2 separate regions of the Homo sapiens genome follow, and region 1 is linked to region 2. Evidence: promoter capture Hi-C in 16 types of primary human blood cells and fetal thymus (Javierre and others, 2016). All regions are on one chromosome and are shown on one strand. The core of a region is centred on a gene start or on the middle of the fragment in contact, and the rest is flanking DNA. Distances in the headings are between cores, read along the strand shown.

Evidence for each region. Contacts are between HindIII fragments. The CHiCAGO score rates a contact against its expected background, and 5 or more counts as called.
Region 1: a fragment that was not itself captured here is called in contact with the fragment with the promoter of SPICE1 in region 2 in 6 of 17 cell types (fetal thymus, non-activated CD4 T cells, activated CD4 T cells and 3 more); the score reaches 12.8 in fetal thymus.

What each region holds. Positions count from the first base shown.
Region 1 is chr3:113,692,309-113,697,815 of GRCh38, forward strand. It overlaps USF3 (upstream transcription factor family member 3), which reads right to left and starts at 4,334. Exons shown (of 7, transcript NM_001009899.4): 1 at 4,062-4,334. RefSeq lists silencers at 3,665-4,054, 4,075-4,544. The HindIII fragment of the contact is 578 bases long and covers 2,818-3,395 here.
Region 2 is chr3:113,512,910-113,517,851 of GRCh38, forward strand. SPICE1 (spindle and centriole associated protein 1) reads right to left here and starts at 2,247. Exons shown (of 18, transcript NM_144718.4): 1 at 1,988-2,247. SPICE1-CFAP44 (SPICE1-CFAP44 readthrough (NMD candidate)) reads right to left here and starts at 2,247. Exons shown (of 52, transcript NR_183050.1): 1 at 1,988-2,247. RefSeq lists enhancers at 1,934-2,053, 2,114-2,163, 2,870-2,919, 3,430-3,479, 3,540-3,589. The HindIII fragment of the contact is 3,693 bases long and covers 1,103-4,795 here.

The DNA.
Region 1 (5,507 bases), core at 1,857-4,356, 180 kb after region 2:
ACTATAATAAATGGTAGAAACTTATTACTCCATTACTGAGTGCTAATTATTGAGAATACAAATATGTAAAAAATTCATATTATTCATATTACTGAGAATACAAACATGAAAAAAAATTTCATGTTTGTATCCTCAACAATTAGCACTCAGTAACTGAGTAATAAATGTCTGCTGAAAGAATATCTGGTCTTTCCTTTTTTTTGTATTAATCATTATGTCATAGATTTTACATACTTATGTTTAATTTAGCATCTAATGAATACTCCATTGAGTTCCTTAAACAATCCTAATAAGTCTAAAACGTTCTTATGAGCTGAGTCCACCATTTACTATTTCTGTATTCTCTTCAGTACCTAACAGTGTTGGGCACATGGTAAATAATAAATACTTGGTGAACTGAATTAAAAACACAGTATTAGCACACTAATAGAAACAACTTATCATGTCCTACTGATCTAATTAAAAGATCTGGCCTTCTGAAGTAGTGCAATTGTCCCCATATGGAAATTTTAATGAGAAAAAGAAAAATTATCCAATTGGACAGTTAACCACGTTTCTTTTAGCAAGAGTTCCACAAATATTTTATGAATAATAAATGTATACCTTTACAGCACAGAGTAAAAGACTCAGGACACATATATGCCTGTGCATACTGGAAGGAAGATTACATATTTAAGGGGTCTGTCACAACTACAATCACTTAGATTCTACTAACCTTTAACAAATCTATAATAGGAGTATAGGACATAAAAATATTTAATAGCAAAATCAATTAATGCCAAATCAACTTACGTTCAAGATGTATATGGCTATCTTTTTATAATATATAACATGGCAGTCATTTACTCATTTAAGAACATTTATTAACTGCCTAGTAATCACAAATACAATGTTAGGTCCCAAAAATACAAAGATAAAAAGAACACATTTCCTATGTTAGTGGAGTTCTATTTCTGCCATGTTGCAATGGTATTCAAGAATATGTGAATGGTACCCCCTGGAGTTGCTCAACATGGAGGCCCTGGTTAGCAGTATGGTGGGGAAGGCATATAAACACATACTTATGGCAGTGTGCTAAGTGCTAGCACAGAAACAAGTACAACTGTTACGGGGCCACGGAAGATAAATCATCTACTAATGAAATTAAGAAAAGATATGAAAAAAACGGATGTCTATACAGGAATTCAATGCTAGTTAAGGTATGATGAAGCTACTAACATACCTAAGATGAAATCAAACCTAAAACTATGGTTGCAGGAAGAGTCAGAAGGGTTCCAAACCAAACCAATCCAACTTAAAACCACTGTGAAAGAGATGAAAAATAAAATATTCCTTAGCATAACATTTGAGAACAATGAAACACATACACATAGAACTTAAACTGCCACATACCGTAAGCCTAAAGAGAATCTTTTAACCATGTAGCATAGAAGTTCAAAGGGGGTCGATCACTAAGAACTAGAGTAAGCTATCCAGAAAACTTTCATAAAAGTGTAATTAGAACTATTATTGGCGGTAGGGAGGAATAGAGGAAAGGTGTCCATATCCTGAGAAAGGTCAACGTCAACGTCTGTAGCAAAAGCAGTGGGGGGAAAGTTGGACACATGAGTGAGGCCTGATTTAGGAAAGCCCAGAACACAAGCTTAGCTTTTGGACGTAGTCTCATGGGAGTTCTCAGCCAGGGCTACTGAACAGAATCACCTGGAGAGCTTTAAAAAATATGCCCATGGCAGAGCTTTACTCCAGATCAAAAATAAGAGAGTTTCTGAGGGAAGTGGCCTGGGCATTAAAACTTAAAGACACACAAGGTGATGCTCATGTACAGTCTGGATTGAGAACTACTGGACTAGAGAACAGAGAGGTAAAGCATGACAGATATGATTAAGGCTCAAGCTTGATTTAAGACCCTGTTTATAAGCAACAAACTTGAGCTGATTACCTGTTGAAGCTTGTATTCTAACCTGAGTTAAAAATTCTCAGTTTTCTTAGTGTTTCTTTTCCCTTGTTGACAAGGCTAAGCTCTGAAAATAGGAAAAGTACCCATCAATTTCTCATACATGACTGGTTCATTGAGTGTAAGGTCTACAACCTTAGAATTTTACTTCCACGATGTTCCATAGACGACTAACCTAGAAGATAAGTACTTCAATTCTAAGCTGCTCTTACATCCCTGCAATGCACTCCTTTTATATCAGCGAATGTTCTAGGCTGCATCCAGATTTTGCAAAACTCCTAAATACAGGGAGATCCCAATACCTATGTACACCTAAGTCTTTTAGCTTAGACCAGGAGTGTCCAATCTTTTGACCTCCCTGGGGCACACAGGAAGAAGAAATGTCTTGGGCCACCCATCAAATACACTAACACTAACGATAGCTGATGAGCTTAAATAAATAAGTAAATAAATATCACACACAAACATCTCATAATGTTTTAAAAAGTTTACAAATTTGAGGCCGGGCGCAGCGGCTCATGCCTGTAATCCCAGCACTTTCGGAAACAGAGGCAGGCGGATCACCTGAGGTCAGGAGTGCAAGACCAGCCTGGCCAACATGGAGAAACCCTGTCTCTACTTAAAGAAATAAAAATTAGCTGGGCTGGTGGCATGCACCTGTAATCCCAGCTACTCAGGAGGCTGATGCAGGAGAATTGCTTGAACCCAGGAGGCGGAGGTTGCAGTGAACTGAGATAACACCACTGCATTCCAGCCTGGGCGACAGAGTGAGACTCTGTCTCAAAAAAAATAAAAGAAAGTTTACGAACTTGTCTTCTTGTCTTGGGCCGCATTAAAAGCCGTCCTTGGACGGGGGTTGGAAAAGCTTGGCTTAGGCTAAAGCAAAACTGCTTTAGGATTAAGCATTCATTCTTGCATGGATACATTACACTACTTCTGCTTTCAGAAGTGCAATTACAATGTATTTTACTTCTTTTGTAACAAATACTTTGAGTACTTAAAGAGAAACAACACATGTATCCCAAACAGCAACTCTGTACTATGTTAAACAAGAGTTCTATGGGAGAGAAAAAAGTCATCAAGGTGAATGGAGAGTAGGACAGCCTGTTGATCCTTCAAAAGGCAGGTTTGTCTGTTTGGTTTTCTTTACAAAAGAGCAAACCTGGGAATATGTTTCAGGATCCATGTAACTCACCGTAAGATTTATTCAAGAAATCTGTACGTTGTTTATAGGTAAGGAAATGTCTTCTTTGCCTACACAGTTGGCCACGACTGTCTTGATCTGTGTGGTGTTAGGTTACTGTATCTACTTGATGGTAAAAATGTTACAAGAACGGAAGTTGAAATTCTGCACTTTGGTTTATGCAGTCTCATATTTCCAGATAAAGTTAATAAACGCAAAGGACCATATCCCAATGTAACGAGGAGGGTTGGGAGGACAAGCTTCAAGAACGAGTGGGGTGAATTCAACTATCAAAATTGTAAACATGAACAAGAGTCCAGGAATCTTATATTTCATCCGGATACATGAAAGTAGATTTCAAGAGTTGGTCATTCACTTGCACTGCTTCTACTCAGAAAGCAAAAGAACGGCTTCTAAAAAGAAAACACAAGCCTAACACTTCGACAGAGGGGTGAGAGGGAAAAAGCAAGCCACATGAGTCTGACGAACGGGTACGAAAGAAATTCAGAGGGCAAGGAAAGAAGGGGAATGAAGAAGACAGGAAAAGGTGAAGGAGGCGGGCAAAGGCCATCTGGTGTGAACCTGGCTGCCCAGCTCTTTATGCACCCAGGGCAGCGTGGGGCCCCTCTCGCCCCGCGCGCATCTAGGAGCTGGGGCGCAGTGCGAGCCCCCCACGGGCCTGGCAGCCGGGGACGCAGGGCGGGCGGGAGATGAGGGGTGCGCTCGCCGCGGGCGCTGACGCCCCACCAGGTGCCGCACGCAAGGGTCCCCAGGAAGGAGGCGCACTTAGCGCAGCCCTGGCCTCCCGGAGCAGGAAGGGGGTGGGTGGAGCTGAGCCCGGGGCCGCCCTCCGGAGCCGCCCCCGCAGCCCTGGCCCCCGCCCCCCGCCCCGGCTGTCAGCGGCCCCCTCCCGCAGTCACTTACCCGCCGGCTGCGCGGTCTCGGCCGCGGTGGCGGCGGCGACGGCGGCGACCCCCGCCTGGGTCATGATCCCAGGAGGGGAAGGCAGGAGTGTCTGACCGTCTGGGCGAATCTCTCCGTCCGCGGCCACCGCCTGCTCCTCCGGGGCTGGGGGAGCGCGGGCCCAGGCCCTCCTCTCCCCCCGCCCCCGCCGCCTCTTTTTGCGGCCACCGCAGCCGCTGCGAGCCCGAGCCCTCAAGGCCGGAGACCCGGCGGCAGCGCGGCCTCAACTTTCCCAGCCCCCCTCCCCCCGCCCCTCCCCGCCCCTCCCGCGGCCGCAGCTCAGCAAGCGAACAGCCTACCCTGGGCGCGCCGCGTTCCCGCCTCTTTCACTCAACCCGCCAATCAGGCTGCGGGAACGCTGCCGTGGTAGCCAATAAGAAGACAGAATGCCGTTGCACTACGCTAGAGGGCGGGAGGAGGCGGAGAGGAAACCAAGGAGTGAACGGGGATCGGGCGGCCCAATGAGGAGGGCCGGGGGGCGGAGGTGTGCAAGTTGGGTTGAAGAAACAGGAAATATTCTTAAAGGTAGAGTGACGGACAGGAAGGAAAGCCAGTAGGTGAATGGGAAAGAGGTGGGCCTGGTTCCTTAAAGGGGACGCCTTGAGAACCTAGAAAAGAAGGTGTTTTAAGAAACTTCTTTGTATCTTCTTCTGTGGTCTCTTTTCTTCGTCTTTCGGTAGGAGTTTGGAAGTGGAAAAATTGAAAAGGAAGAGGGCACGGAAGTCTTTCGGAATAGTTAGCCCCTCTTAACGTGGAGGGCAGGAAGGTGAGAAGATACGTCTTAGTAAATGTGGAGAAGAAAGAATCAGACGTTTCCGACTTCTCGATAACTGGAAGATTGTTGCTGACTTGACGCTGCTCGCATTCGTAGGCTGTGGTCTCTTGTCATCCTTTATTTGCAACAACACACAGATTTCTGTGAATTGGAGATGGCCATGTTCAGAAATGCCCTGGGGGCCTCCCAGCTGGGACAAGGGAGTTTGGCATTGGGGGATGGGGTTTGAGATCTCAAGCCTGGGTTACTAAATACCTGGATCTAGGAGAGGTAGGGCCAGGGGTCACGAAATGGAGACCTGAGTGCCCCTTAACTCCAGGATCTGTGTGGAGCCCTTGGAACCGTGATCACAACTCCCTCTTCCTAGTTTCGCTTCATATTTTATAACCTCCTGCTGAAACAGGTGTCCTCCACCTAGTTGCGGTTATAGATTTCCAAGCCCTTCCACAACCAGATTTGGAAATATCCCAGATCTTAGATGTCCGTGGGCTAACTTCCAGAAGGTGCACACAGGGCATGGCATAATGGGAATTACTTGAGCCTGTATACAGAAGCAGCAGACATCGCATTGAGCAAAAGGGTAAAGGCTAACAGTAACGGAGTCTTATGTTTGTACAGCAGATTGAAAAGCT
Region 2 (4,942 bases), core at 997-3,496:
AAGTAAACTAAGTAAACTAAATAAACTAAGATATTAGTAAACAAGTCTAATATGGTGCCAGCTCTCATGGAGCTGCTTTCTTGATCACAAAGGGGCAGTTCACATCCTCCCTCAGTGACCTCACCAACTCCCTTGAGCAAAGCTATGAATGTATGGACAAACAAACACACTGTGAAAATGAGTCCCAAATCAATGATTCACACCTTTCCTCAAAACTTCAAACACAGTGGCTCGCATCTGTAATCCCAGCAACTCGGGAGGCTGAGGCTGGAGGATCGCTTGAGGCAGGAAGCTCAAGACCAGCCTGTGCAACATAGCAAGACCCTGTCTCTAAAAAAAAAATTTTTTTTAATTAGCCAGGAGTGGCAGTGAGTGCCTATAGTTTCAGCTACTCAGGAGGCTGAGGTGGGAGGACTGCTTGAGCCCAGGAATTGGAGGCTGCAGTGAGCTACGATGGCGCCCCTGCACTCCAGCCTAGGTGACAAAGTGAGGCTCTGTCTCTTAAAATAAACAAACAAAAACAAAACAAAAACACCAAATGCTCATTTCTAACTACCTACTATATACATCTCCCAAATATCACAAATACAGTATATCAAAATACAGCTCATCATCATACCCCAAATCTCTACTTGCTGATATATAACTGGTTGACTCGATAAATATGTTCAATTAAGCTGAATTTACAGAATTACAATCCTAGTTGCTCCAATTTAAAACCTCAGCATCACCTCTGTTCCTTATCTCTTAGTGAATCAGATAACAGAATCTATTAACTTTTTCCCTAAAAATCTCTCTTGCCCGCTCTTCTCCATCTCTACTAAAAATATTTTTGTTCAGGCTCTCATTATTCTAATTAGTCTCCCTTTCACTCTTCACTCACTGACTTCATCATCCATCTATTAATGTAACTAATATTTTGAAGCACCATCTAAAAGCGAGGCACCAGATATAACAAGAAAGTAGAATAGTCTATGCCCTTGCAGAGTTAAGAGTTTCTAAGAGGACCGCAATTAAACAAGTATTTACAACAAAAGGGCAGCATGGGAAGTAAATTCTGTGTGCCATGAAAGTACCTAACTAACTCTATGCAGTAAGTAAAAGCTTCTCCTCTCTGTAATACCCCCAAAAATGTTTGCACTGAGAGCTAAAATACGAATAAAAGTTAGAAGCAGGGGAAAGAATATTCCAGGCAAGGGAAAATGCATTTACGAAGAGTTTGAGAAGTTCAGTTCAATTAACAAAGATCTGAGAGGGTGAGAGGTTAAAGGAAGAAAGGCAGACAGCAGATTGTAGTCTTGTGAGCCACAGCAATCTGAACACCTAAGACCATAGGAAACCACTGAAGAATTTTAAAAGGGATAGTTATGACTGGACTTAGTAAATCCACTCTGACTGGTGTGGAAAACTGATCAAAGAGAAACAAGAACTCTTTCCAAACACTGTTGAATCAATCCTACCTAAATACATGGATAGAGAATAGATCTGAACCCTTTACCTACTTCCTCTAGATTCGGATGGCTCCCCACTGTCAAAAGCAATCCAACTCAGCTTGGCATTCAGACCCTCTCCCCCATATGGCCCGGCTGACTTTTCTTTCCAGTGTTCTCTCACATCTCCCGCAAATCCTAAAACCAAGCTCTCGCCTCACACACAGTTGCAACCATTCTTTTCCCTCTGCTTGGAACACTCATTAGGCTCACTCTCTTCTCTACTGGGTTAACTTCCACGGACTCCTCAAAACTCACAGGAGGAGCCTTCTGAGAAGCCCCTCTGACATCCATCGATTTAAATGACGCTCCCGGTCCCAAAGCACCCTGGATAGTTTGCCTCTCTCCTGCTACACGGTGAACTCCCCCAACGCTACAATCGAGCACCCCCAATTACCAGCTCTGTGCAAAAGCTCCCGAAAGCGGTGCGCACGCGCATACTCGAGGTGCTCTGGCGCCACGCACAAACATACCCAGACACGCACCCTGACACGTACTTGCACTCTCAAAACACAGAGCCGCGGCTGCGCTTCCTGAAGTAAGGATTCCCCAACCGGGCGCCTGGATCCCAGGCAACAGACAGATGCCACCACCGTTCTCCCCACCCTTTTGGTAGCCCTGGTCCCTAAGGCTCGTTGGGACTGCGAGCTGCAAGCCTCAGATCCATCATCTCAACCTGCCTTGCAGTCGGTCCCGACTGCCGCCGCCACCGCAGCTAAAACTTCAGGCGCCGGAACCGCGGAGCGCGCCACAGGTTAACCCAGCCAGCGGCTTCCGGGCTGTTGCCTGGGTTACCAGAGCTCCGCCCCACGCCCTTGCGTATATCCGGCGAGCCCAGTGCGCAGGCGCCTCCCAAAGCCTATCTCGGGTCCTGAGTCTAAGGGAGAGAGGTTCCTCTGCAAGGTTCAGGGCAAATTATTAAAGAATAGGTATATAGCAGGCCGGGCGCGGTGGCTGACGCCTGTAATCCCAGCACTTTGGGAGGCCGAGGCAGGCGGATCACGAGGTCAGGAGATCGAGACCATCCTGGCTAACACGGTGAAACCCCGTCTCTACTAAAAATACAAAAAATTACCCGGGCCAGGTGGCGGGCGCCTGTAGTCCCAGCTACTCGGGAGGCTGAGGCAGGAGAATGGCGTGAACCTGGGAGGTGGAGGTTGCAGTGAGCCGACATGGCGCCACTGCAGTCCGGCCTGGGCGAAAGAGCGAGACTCCGTCTCAAAAAAAAAAAAAAAAAAAAAAGAATAGGCATATAGCATTAGCCGGTGCCTCGAGAATTCTCCAAAAGAAAGATGTTGCTCTCCTCACCAGACTTCACATATCACTTAATTTGCTTTCATCTCTATTCATTTGTTTACAAATCTTTAGTAGTGGAATCCCAGCACTTTTGGAGACAGAAGCAGAAGGATTGCTTAAGCTCAGGAGTTTGAGACAAGCATGGGCAAGATGGCGAAACCCCGTCTCTACGAAAAATTAAAAAATTAGCTGGGCGTGGGAACACGCCTGTAGTTCCAGCTACTCAGGAAGCTGAGGTGCGAGGATCGCTTGAGCCAAGGAGGGCAAAGCTGTAGTGAGCCACAGTCATACCACTTCACTCCAGCCTGGACGACAAAGCAAGACCTTGTCTCAAAAAAAAAAAAAAAAGTTGTTTATTACAACCTACAAATGTGCGGGAGAGCTAGGTTCTATGGGGCTAAAAACAGGCAAGGTGGGAAACTTACAGCATATTAACAGACAGTTATCAATGACAAAAACATTAAAATTATGACGAGTGCTAAGAAGGAAGCACTCTAACCAAATACTTAGCTTATTATTATAGTAATATTTGAATTACTCAGGAAAGCTCAGACATGAATAGGCCAGTGGGGAAGGGGAAAGCATTCCTGCAGAGGGAGCTGCATGTGCAAAGATGTGGAAAATGCAAGGGACAGGAAGAGGTCCAGTGTGTCTGAAGTTTAGAGAACAGTGGGAACTTGCTGTGAAGGGGAGGCGCCCTGATAGGCTGGATCCACGACAGTCAGAGCTGCGTGGACCACGTTAAGAACTTTACAAAGCACTTGATTCAAAAACAGAGTTTATTTGCTCTGGTAAGACAATTTCCTCTAGCCCCTTGCTTTCTGCTGTTACAATACACCCATGTGTGGTCTGCAAATACATGCCCAAAACCTTCTAGAGGAAAGGTACTGCCTTTAATAGTTTTCACTCTGATTGAGGAAGTTTGATGTAGATATATTTAATAATCAACAATCATCCACTTGCTTGCATCCTCAACTCCCTGCCCCTCTCTAAATTGCTGTAATCACTTGGCAAAATGACCATATTAGCCATCCCTACTTTACACTTACTAAGTGCTTGCACCCATGCAGCTGAATCTGAAAAAAAACACCCAATCATGCTGACTTTAAATTCATGATTACTGATGTTAAGTAGGACCTTAAAGATGCTTGAACATCTCATTACAGGTCCCTGTTCATTGATTTTCCTACATATTAGTTTTATACCTTCATTCATACCCAATGCCTTGTCTCCTATCCTCATTCTCACACAATGACCTTGCTTCCTACTGCATTGATTACACTGAATTATTCAAAAGAGAACTTCCCTAAGCTCCCATCATTATTTTAATCCTTCTGTCACTATCTTTACCCACAGACCTGCCTTCAGAAGCTCAGCATAAGAAATATGAAGAAAGCTAATCAAAATACTTCATAATCAAATTGCTCAGAACGAGTGATAAAAGAATCTTAAAAGCATCCAAGGAAAAAAATACATGTCGTATACAGCAGAACAAAACTAAGGATTACATCAGTTTCTCATTAGAATCAAAACAAGCAAGAAGACAGAATAACAGTTCAAACATATTCAAAGAAAAAAAGCTATCAACCTAGAATCCTTATACTATTCCTTTTTTTTTTTTTTTTAAGACAAAGTCTCACTCTGTCACCCAGGCTGGAGTGCAGTGGCACGATCTCGGCTCACTGCAACCTCCACCTCCCAGGTTCAAACAATTCTCCTGCCTTAGCCTCCGGAGTAACTGGGACTACAGGAACACACCACCATACTCAGCTAATTTTTGTATTTTTAATAGAGACGGGGTTTCTCCATGTTGGTCAGGCTAGTCTTGAATTCCTGACCTCAGGTGATCTGCCCGCCTTGGCCTCCCAAAGTGCTGGGATTACAGGTGTGAGTCACCGCGCCTGACCCTTATACTATTCCTGATACCACTTAAAGGTAGACTATGATAAAATAAAGATGTATACTATAAACCCTAAAGCCGCCACTAAATAATAAAAGTTATTGTTAAAAGCTTACAAAAGTCATGTAAAGGATAACGAAACAAATACTTGATTAATCTAAAAGTATAAAACAAGAAAAAACAAAGAAAAGAGAGAAGTAGGAAAGAAATTGCAAGATGATAGACTCATAAATCATATTAAATGTAAATTGTCTAA